2 separate regions of the Homo sapiens genome follow, and region 2 is linked to region 1. The links are contacts of gene promoters, found by promoter capture Hi-C in blood cells and fetal thymus (Javierre and others, 2016). All regions are on one chromosome and are shown on one strand. Each heading gives the region's core, a stretch centred on a gene start or on the middle of the fragment in contact. The rest is flanking DNA. Distances are from core to core; before and after follow the strand shown. Region 1 holds the start of PCBP3 (poly(rC) binding protein 3). Region 2 holds the start of CFAP410 (cilia and flagella associated protein 410).

What was found. Contacts are between HindIII fragments. The CHiCAGO score rates a contact against its expected background, and 5 or more counts as called.
Region 2: the fragment with the promoter of CFAP410 here is called in contact with the fragment with the promoter of PCBP3 in region 1 in 1 of 17 cell types (erythroblasts); the score reaches 7.1 in erythroblasts.

The regions. Positions count from the first base shown.
Region 1 is chr21:45,641,072-45,646,254 of GRCh38, reverse strand. It overlaps PCBP3 (poly(rC) binding protein 3), which reads right to left and starts at 2,530. Exons shown (of 18, transcript NM_001384156.1): 1 at 2,387-2,530. RefSeq lists silencers at 1,876-2,015, 2,336-3,325. The HindIII fragment of the contact is 8,393 bases long and covers 1-5,183 here.
Region 2 is chr21:44,337,930-44,343,112 of GRCh38, reverse strand. It overlaps CFAP410 (cilia and flagella associated protein 410), which reads left to right and starts at 3,723. Exons shown (of 7, transcript NM_004928.3): 1 at 3,723-3,995. The coding sequence starts at 3,919. RefSeq lists enhancers at 396-1,039, 1,040-1,682, 3,545-3,764 and silencers at 3,765-4,134, 4,435-4,554. The HindIII fragment of the contact is 4,638 bases long and covers 271-4,908 here.

The DNA of each region.
Region 1 (5,183 bases), core at 1,281-3,780:
GCTCCCATTCAACATAATTTCCCTGATCAAATTTTATTTAATAATATGAATTCTGAAATTAATTTTAAAGTACACTGGAAAGGAAGTTTGAGCTCCCCCTGCCCCAAAACACACACACACACACACACACACACACACACACACACAGAGAGAGAGAGAGAGAGAGAGAGAAAGAGAGAGAGAGAGAGAGAGAGAGAGAGAAACAGGTGACACGGATTCAGCACCATGGACAGCGGGCCCATGACGCCTTGCCTCTGAGTCACTGCCACCAGGGATGAGAGCTGAGACATCAGAGCTGCCCCAAAATCTACAGCATTTATTCTAATGTTTAAGTTGGGGCAATTCCAATACATGAGCAAGTATTTTCCTTGGTTATGGCCCAAAGCACTGCCTTCTTCACTGAGAGGATACACAACTTACATCTACTAAAATCTGTTTCAGTGTTCACCTTTACAATAAAGCCATGAGACTTTTGTAAAAATAGAAATGATTCTGCCATTGACACAGGAACTGAAATAATCAAAACTGATACACAGAATCCAAATCTGAATAGCTAGATTGGTTCAAGAAGCTCGTGAGGCTTTTTCAAATTTATAAATGCAGCATGCTGTCAGCCTCCTCAGAACAATAGGGTAAAGAATAGCTTCTTCAAAACAGCTAGCAAAATACAACTATATGTTGAACTTTTTCGCATAAATAGCTAAAAACGTAACCACAAAGCTGTGTGGGTTTTCCCCCACCATGAGCATTATAAAGATATCTGGGAAAGTGATGTTTTGAGGTCCAAAAGCACCACTAATCAGCAGCACCTGGGGCAACGCCAGCCAAAAAGCCCTGAATTCTAGACAGAGTCCATTTTTTTCAGTTATAAAGACCCCATTTATCATCAAAACTTTTTCAAAACCTTATAATATTATCAACTAAGAAAATACGTGAAGCTACGTAAGTTCTAAACCATTCGTAATGAACTTGCACTGTATAAACAACAGCATCTACATACAAGCAAAAAAAAAAAATACTGCTCGAAAGTGAGACATCAGTTAGTCGGTCACTGCACTTGTTAGTTTTAAGGCCCCATGTTTTCTGACAGATCTCCAAGCCTGAAAACACCAGAACTATTTCTGCTTCTGTCGTGTGATGATCAATTAGGTCCTTTCAGATCTTGCAAATGATCCCTTTAGAGTGCCACTGTTCTACAAACACTCCTTTTGGGGCCAAAATAGGTATCTCTGACACGCTTTAAGATGATGAATTATTCTTGAATATGAGGAGGACTGGGAGTTAGTTCTCTTAAATAGGGAAGCACCCTTGCACACTCCTTTGGGATCCACATCTGAGAAAGTCCAAAGAAAAGAAAAAGGGCAACAGTTTGCCCCTGAAAGTGAGTTCAATTTCAGAGGGATATGTGAGGGCCTGTGCCAGAGGAATATTTTTGAAATGGGGGGAGTCTATAAGTTGCCCAGTCTAATCTCTAAAGGCCTCTCCGCAAGGCCCTGCTGCTCAAGATTCCTTCTGGCGAATCCCACTCTACAAACACTCAACAACTAAGAGTGCTACTGGCTCACATGGAGGGCTAACAAGACCTGCAAATCCAGGCTGCTCTGAAGGACGGTGGAAGATAACCAACCCCGAGCCACGAGATTTAGGACCCGACTTTTGGTTAACTTTCAAATTTCTTATGCCAGTAATATACTTCAGAGTGGCGCGGAGGGAATTGGAAAACATCACCAGGCAAAAAAAAGAAAAAAACTCTTTCACGAAACAAGACTTCCAATTAGAACACGTGTGGGGACAATAAGAAACACGTTCTAACCACCCCCAAAATTAAAATAAAACACAGCGAGCAACAAGAGAGACCTGCGCGCGCCCCACCGCCCGCGCGCGGCTCTCCGCAGGGTCACCGAGGGGTGAGGCCGCGCTCTCCCGGCGGCCGTCCAGGGGGAGGAGGCCCCGCGCCCCGCCCCGCCGCCCTCCAGCCGCCGCGGCCGCTCCGGGGTGTTCCCCAGATCTCTTCTCAATCAAGAGATGAAATTTGTGCCGTTTTGAAACTGAAGCCTCAAGTAGTCCAGACGTTTTCTGACCCACATCCGAGACGTTCTCGGCTTCCCGCCGCAACTTCCGAATTTGGGGAGGGGGCGGAGGCGGGCGGGCCAGGCCTGGCGACCGCACCTTGAGGGAGCGCGAGTCCCCTCGCTGCCCCGGGCCGCCGCAGGCGCCGGCGGCGGTCGGGGACGGCGCGACCCAGCCCGGGACCCCCGCCCGCCCCGGCTCGGGCGAAGTTTGCCGCGGCCCGGGGTCGCCCCGTCACTCGGCCTCCGTCGGGGACTGGGTCCCCGTAACCCGCAAGGGCGCCCGACCCCGACCCCGCCCGCCACCGCTCACTCACCTGCCCTGCGCCGGACGGCGAGCCCGCGGGCCGGCGGGGAGAGGCCGGGAGGCCCGGGCGGGGTCGGGGCGAGGCGGGTGAGGAGGCGGCGGCGGAGCCTAAGTCAGCCGAAGCGGCGGCGACCGCGGCTGAGGCGGCTGAGGCGGCGGTCGCGGCTTCAGGCGCTCCAGCCCGAGCGCTGCGCGCGGCGCGGGCCCGCCCCTCTGCGCCGCTAACCAATCTAGCGCCGCGCGCCGCCGCCGGCCCCGCCCCCGCCCAAGGGCAGGCTCGCGAAAGCGGGCGCCGCGGGCCAATGAAAGGGCGGAACATCAACCGGCGCGGCCAATCCGAGCCCGGAAAGTTCTCTGGAAAAAGCCAACTCCAGTCAAAGGGGCGGGGGTGGGGCTGGGGGCGGGGCGGGGACCTGGCCCAATGACGCGCGGGGCGGGGCCGAGCATTGGGCGGGGAGGAGGCGGGGCCTCGAACGGGCGGGCCGGTCACTAGTAGTGGGCGGGGTCGTAGGCGGGACATTGAGCGGGCGGGGCAAGAATCGGGGCGGGGGCCTAATGAAGTGAAGCGGGGAGGGGACGGGCAGTGGGAGGGGCAGGTCACATTTGGGGTGGGGTGGGGGCGGGGCAGGGGCGGGGCTGAGTACGGGAGGCCAGGCCGGGGAGAGGCCTAAGTCGGGGCGGGCGGGAGAAGGGCAAGAGCAGTGGGCGGGGCTCGGGGGTTAGGGGATTAGTGCCCTTGCTGGGGCGGGGCCCAGGCTTGGGGCGGGCCTGTGGTGGGCAGGGCCGTGGATGGGCGGGGCGAGCCTTCGTGGGCGGGCCAGGCCTGTGGTGGGCGGGGCGGGCCGTTGGTGAGCGAGACCTTGGTGGACGGGGCGGATCCGCGGTGGGCGGGGATTTGGCGGGCGGGCGGGTGGGCCCGACGGGACGGGAATGGCCGTTGAATTCCCAGCCGTGCCGCAACCCCGAAGGTCCCCCTGCAGCGCCCGCTTCCCGTTCTCTGTGGGCCTGGCCCCGGCCCGGAGGCTGGGGCCGCAGCGCCCGGCGGGCAGGGGCCCCGAGCGGCTCGTGAGCCTGTGCCCAGACGCTGCCCGCCCCGCGCTGGTCCCGCCGCCCTGTCCCCTCCGCCCGCCCGGCGTTCGCGTGCCGTGGCCTGGGGCGGGGCGTTGCTGGGCCCCGGGGGCTGCAGGGGGAGGCCGCCCTTTCTCTGGGCTGGCTCCGGGCTGTTCCGCTCCGCGCCGTTTTCCCGGTACTTCCCGCGGAGCCCGCCTCGCTGTGCGTCCCCGCCCGGGCGTTTCTTCCGCGGCGCTGAGCGCCCGCCCCGGCCTCGGGCAAGGGCAGCCGGACGCCCCGAGGACCAGGGCGCTGGGGCCGAGGCGCGTCCTCCGCAGTCGCCGCGCCTGGGCCCCGTTTCCCCGCGGGTCCTCGCCGGGGTGGGAGGCGCCTCTTGGCGTCCGTGGGGAGCTGGGTGTGGGGGGCGGCAGGGCAGGAGGTGGGGGGGCTGAGCCGGAGAAACGTCCTCGCCCCGCCCGAGACCTCAGACACCCCAGAACCTCGGGCCGGCAGCCAGCTGCAGGAATCGCGCCCTAAAGCCTGGGGTCCGCGCCCGCCCGCCTCCCGCGAGCGCCAGGGGCTGCCGGGTCACCGGGATGCAGCCTCGAGGCGACGTCACAGACCCCACGCGGCCCCCCGAGCACCCCCGGAGCCGGCGCGGGGACAGGGGTTCGGGATGGACGGAACCCACGCAGGGAACGTTCCGGGCCGTCTACGCCAGGCTCAGGGCGGCCGTCAGCTGGGGTTGGAGGTGGGTCAGGAAGAGATGTGTCCTTTTGTCTCCAAATGTCGCTTGTGTCATTAAAAGACAACCTTAAAATAGAAGAAAAAAAAAAAAAAAAAGCCTGGGCTGGCGTGAGGAGGGGCCGTCCGCGAGCTACGGAGGCTGAGTCGGCGGGGAAGGGAATGTGGAGTGGGGCGGGGGGGGCGCTTGGCGAACCCGTGCTTTGGACGCGCTTGGCGGTTTCGGGGAGAATGAGAATGGAGGGGAGGGAGGCCAAGGCCTGCAGCCTGGTGGGAATGCTGGGAAGGACGCTGTGGACAGGACCTTACTGGAAATGAACCAGAAGGGAAGGTGGGCCGGGCGCGGTGGCTCGCCCCTTAATCCCAACGCTTTGGGAGGCCGAGGCAGAAGGATCGCTTGAGCCCAGGCGTTGGAGACCCGCATGGGAAACATCGTGAGACTCTGTTTTTAGAAAAGGAGGAGGAGAAGGGATACTGGGCGGCCTCTGCCACACCTGGACTCTGCGGGCAGGGGGCCAGAGGGACCCAGGGCTGCTGTGCTGGAGCTGGAGCTGGCGCGAGGGTCTGGGCAGAGCACTGTCAGCGCCCCCAGATTACAGGCTGCCAGCCTCCCCCGGTCCTCTGCGGGAGCCTGCGGCCTCAGCTGCCTGCCCCGCCGGCTGAAAGACACAGTTAGTCATTAGGAAAGTAATGATAGTGTTTTCAGGGCAGCGTGTTAGACCCTAAAGACTTTCTATTATTTGCAGTTCCTGCCAACCCTGTGAAGAAAAAAAGCAGCTCATCTCTCACGCCCCGCCTCTTGACACACGCTGATCCGGCCTGGTTCTGGGTTTTCCCGGAGCCTGCAGGGCAGCCCCGCCCCAGGCGGCAGCAGCTGGGCCTGCAGCGTGTCCCTCATGGTGCCCGGCCTCCAGGTCCAGAGTTTCCTGCCTCCCTGAGCTCGGGGTGCGCTGTCTCCACCCTCTCATGGCCGTCAGGGTGCTGGTCCCGTCAGAAGTGCACCCAGGGGCTCG
Region 2 (5,183 bases), core at 2,474-4,973, 1.3 Mb after region 1:
AGAATAAATCTCTTAAAATATTTTACAGAGTTTGACTCTTTTTGTCAACACCACGATATAGAAGGTTAAATAAAACCCATCTGATGAGAATTTATGGTTTGTAGGGCATGACTGTCCATGCCCTTTAGGAATTTGGGCAAGATAAAAAAAGAAAAATCAGAGTTTAGTCCTCAATTACTTCAAGGCCGAGAGTGAGTTCTGGCCTTGAAGTAATCTTGTTGGAGACAGAATGAGGTGTCCGGTCCCTTTCAGGAGCTGACCCCTGAAGCTTCCAAGCAAAGAGATGACCAGATAAGTGAGCATGGTGTGTGCTTAACAGGCATCCAGGTAAACTAAATGTGCATAAGGCCTGAGAGCACAGGATGGGAACGGAGTGGAGGTTCACATTCCCAGGCTGTATTTCAAGATGGAAGGTAACACAAGCAGCTTGTCTCAGTTACATCTTCAGACTAGGGTGGAGGAGGAGGAAAGGGGAAAGGGGAAAAAGTTTTAAAACATGGTTTGAGGCTTAGCTGTGTGAAAGGAATATAAAGCTCAAGACCTTAAAATCACTAAGTCAAGGGAAAAGTCAGCTGGAAAATGCATCAGGCAAACCTGCCTCCAATTTTATTCCTAAATAAGATCGCTACAAAGATAAAAAGCTATGAAGCTCCCTCACAATTTGCCCACAAGGAAATTCCTTGTGGGCCTCAAGATCTTTACCCTCAAACAGTTCTGTTGAATTTCACCCTGGAATGTAAACTGATAGCTGATCTTCACAGGTGTGGGACAGGAGGTCATCCCCCTGCTCACCGGAGACACATGCCTATCTGTTTGCTTTCTCTGCCTTATTGTTTATGTAAAAATGCAGATTTACTAAGCTAGACCAAATTGTGTATTCAGTGAAAGGACTCAAAAGAATGCAATCTTTTGTCTCTTATCCACCGATGACCTGGAAGCTGGAAGCCTCCCTCCACCCCCACAACCCCACCCGGCCTTCAAGGTGTCCTGCCTTTCCAGACTGAACTAATGTACATCTTTTTTTTTTTTTTAAGACGGAGTCTCGCTCTTGTTGCGCAGACTGGAGTGCAATGGCACAGTCTCGGCTCACTGCAACCTCTGCCTCCCGGGTTCAAGCGATTCTCCTGCCTCAGCCTCCAAAGTAGTTGGGATTACAGGCGCCCACTGTCAGGCCTCTGAGCCCAAGCTAAGCCACCATGTCCCCTGTGACCTGCACGTACACATCCAGATGGCTGGTTCTCGCCTTAACTGATGACATTCCACCATAAAAGAAGTGAAAATGGCCTGTTCCTGCCTTAACTGATAACATTGTCTTGTGAAATTCCTTCTCCTGGCTCATCCTGGCTCAAAAGCTCCCCTACTGAGCACCTTGTGACTCCCACTCTGCCCGCCAGAGAACAACCCCCCTTTGACTATAATTTTCCTTTATCTACCCAAATCCTATAAAACGGCCCCACCCTTATCTCCCTTCACTGACTCTCTTTTCAGACTCAGCCCACCTGCACCCAGGTGAAATAAACAGCTTGATTGCTCACACAAAGCCTGTTTGGTGGTCTCTTCACATGGACACGAGTGAAACCCACCACCGCGCCCAGCTAATTTTTTGTATTTTTAGTAGAGACAGGGTTTCACTATGTTGGCCAGGCTGGTCTCGAACTCCTGACCTCAGGCCATCCACCTGCCTCAGCCTCCCAAAGTACTGGGATTATAGGCGTGAGCCACCGCGCCCGGCTTAATGTACATCTTATACATATATTTTTTCTTCTTTTTCCATCTTACACATATTGATTGATGTCTCATGTCTCCCTAAAAATGTATGAAAGCAAGCTGTGCCCCAGCCACCCAGGGCACATGTCATCAGGACCTCCTGAGGCTGTGTCATGGGCTTGTCCTTAACCTTGACAAAATAAACTTTCTAAACAGATTGAGTCCTGTCTCAGATATTTTGGATTCACAGCTGCTAAGCTGCTCGGTTACAATTGAAGGCTCATGGGTTAGGGGTTGTTCAAAGGTAGTTTGGTGAACAGGGGGCTAGGGCATGGGGAGTGCTGATTGGTTAGGTGCGAGATGAAATCTAGCTGTCCTTTTGGTCCTTTTGTGCTGCATGGCTTCTGGGTGGGGCCACAGGAGCTGTTGGCAAGACATTTAGCTGGATCCATCCGTGTGAGACATGCAAGAAACCTGCAAAGGTACAATAGTGATGTTACCTGCAGGAGTAATTGGGGAAGTAGCTTATCTTGTGACCTCCAGAATAATGGCTGACGAATGTTTACATCTGCATCTTAGTGGAATTCATGCTCCTCTATCCTTCTAGGCTGGTAGTGTAACCGCCCAATGGGTTCGCCTTGCCCACTGCCTAGACAGAACCGATTTATCAAGGCAACGGAATTGCAATGGAGAAAGAGTAATACACACAGAGCTGGCTGTGCAGGAGAGCAGAGTTTTATTATCACTCAAATCAGTCTCCCCAAGCATTCGGGGATCCGTGTTTTTAAGGATAATTTGGCGGGTATGGGCTCAGAAAGTGGTGAGTGCTGATTGGTCAGGTCGAAGATTAAATCATAGGGGGTCAAAATGAGTTCTGGCTGACTTCTGTCCCTGGGTGGGATCACACACATGGTTGAGCCAGATTATCCGTTTGGGTGGTGTCATCTGCTGCATCTGAATGCAGGGTCTACAAAATATTTCAAGCACTGACCTTAAGTTTTGCAACAGTGATGTTATTCCCAGAAGCAATTTGGGGAGGTTCAGACTCTTGCCGCCAGAGGTTGCATGGCCCCTAAACTGTAATTTTTAATCTCGTAGCTTAATTTGTTAGTCCTACAAAGGCAGACTGGTCCCCAGGCAAGAAGGGTTTTTTTGGGAAAGGGCTATTATCAATTTTGTTTCAGTTTAATCTATAAACTAAATTCCTTCCCAAGGCTAGTCTGGTCTACACCCAGGAATGAACAAAAGCAGCTTAGAGGATAGCAGGAAGATGGGGTGGGTGAGGAGATCTTCCCCTGTCATAATTTCTTCAGTTATGATTTTTGCAAAGGCGGTTTCAGTGGTCTCATTAGCTTTACAAAGGCTGTTTAGTTTTGAGGAAGGGCTGCTATCACTTAAACTATAAATGTCTCCCAAAGTTACCTTTGCTTATCCAGGAATAATTAAGGGCAGTTTTAAGGCCAAAGGCAAGATGGGGGTTGGCCAGATCTCCTTCAAGGCCAACCTTCTCTCACCGATACAATTTTTTGCAAAGGCGGTTTCAGAACGTCAGAACGCCTGTCTTAATGTAACTGTGGCCCATGTAACGATGTTTAGAGGGTCTTATCTGATTTCTAAAAGGTTGAAATGCTTGTAAGGGCTCTGCTGGACCTGCCCGTGCGTCTTTCCTATAAATGCGTCTTTTCTGTAAATGCTGGGAGGGAGGGAGACAAGGAATCAACACAGCCCCAGGGCTGCCCTGGGTTTATTCCAAGAGTTTGAATCGCGTAACTTGGAGCTGTGTAGCGCCCATGCCATCCACGCTAGGCCTGCGCTCAGAGTCAGGCCTAGGCACTCGGCCATGATGCGCGTCGGACCGAGCCCACCCCGCTCGGTTCCTGGGAGCAGCAGTTCAGCCCTCACTGGGCCGACTCGGGGACCGCCACCTGCACCCACCCTCTGCTCGCTGCGCGCTTCCGGGGTCGCGTTAGAATCGCGTCAGAGAAGGGCGCCCCAGGCCGCGCATGAGCAGGAGCAGAGCCAACGTGTCAGCGGCGCCCAAGCGGCCCCAGCGGGCTCGCGTCGCCCCGCTCTCCTCACCGAGCCGCCAATCGGCTCAGGATCCGCCCCTGACGACGCGGGCCCCGCCCCTGGAGACACGCGCCGCGCAGTCGTCACCCGCCCGGGATCAGGAGGCCGGGGGCGCCCGCCGGTCGGGCCTGGGCGGCCGCCATGAAGCTGACGCGGAAGATGGTTCTGACCCGGGCCAAGGCCTCGGAGCTGCACAGCGTGCGCAAGCTCAACTGCTGGTGAGGCGGGGCCTGGCCGCGGCCGCCCCGGGGTGGGGGGAGGAGCCGGGGCGGGGCGAGGGCGGAGCCGGAGGGAGGAGCCGGGGCGGGGAGAGGGCGGAGCCGGAGGGAGGAGCCGGGGCGGGACGAGGGCGGAGCCGGAGGGAGGAGCCGGGGCGGGGAGAGGGCGGAGCCGGGGCGGGGAGAGGGCGGAGCCGGGGCGGGGAGAGGGCGGAGCCGGAGGGAGGAGCCGGGGCGGGACGAGGGCGGAGCCGGAGGGAGGAGCCGGGGCGGGACGAGGGCGGAGCCGGAGGGAGGAGCCGGGGCGGGACGAGGGCGGAGCCGGAGGGAGGAGCCGGGGCGGGGCGGGGCGGGGGCGGAGTGGAAGGGGGGAGGGGCAGGGGCGAGGGCGGCGAAGGAGCCGCGGGTGAGGGAGGGGAGGAGGCCGGGGGTCGGGGTCGCCTGGGCCCCCCCCCATTTCCCGGCCCGCCTTTGCCCCGGGTGCCCTGTGGGCTGGGTCTGTTGTCTGGGGTTGCCAGCAGTCACTGGGACCAAGTCGAATAGGAGAGAGAACTGAGCTTTCCAGGACTGAGTCAGGAAACACGTTGGTAATCAGTACTGGGGGCGGCCGTTCCCAGGGTACTCCTAGCAGGTGACAGGAAGGGACGTGGGTGCGGTGGGACCCAGGCAGGCTGAAAGGCAGGTAATGCTGAGTCTCACTGAGCCAAGGAAGACCAGGAGCTTCCAGAAGAGGGAGCCTGGAGTTGAGGCCTGCAAGATCTCCAGGGTTCCCTGGGGACTCAGCAGAGTGACCGCGCCGTGTCAACTGGCCTCACCGTGCAGGCGGGTGTGGGGGTCAGCGAGAGCAGACGCTTCCTCCCAGGGGTGTCCGCAGACTGCCCAGAGTGAGCTCTTCCCTGTTAATTAAAAAGCTTTTCTCTCTGCCCTGGCATATCTGGTGTTTTGGCTACAATTCCCGTGTCATTTGCTTTCAATAATGCATTTCTTTGTTTTGCATGGGGTGGTCAGTACTCCCACTAAGCTGGGAGAAACAACAACCCTGTTTCAGGCTTTTAAAGTTTGCTTCATAAGTTGCCTGTTCACCCTTTGAACTTGACCTCTTATAAAGACGCCCTTGTTTATGTCTGTCAGTGAGAGAAATGAACCTTCTGCTACTCAGGGACCATGAGGAAGAGTTCATCTTTTTGT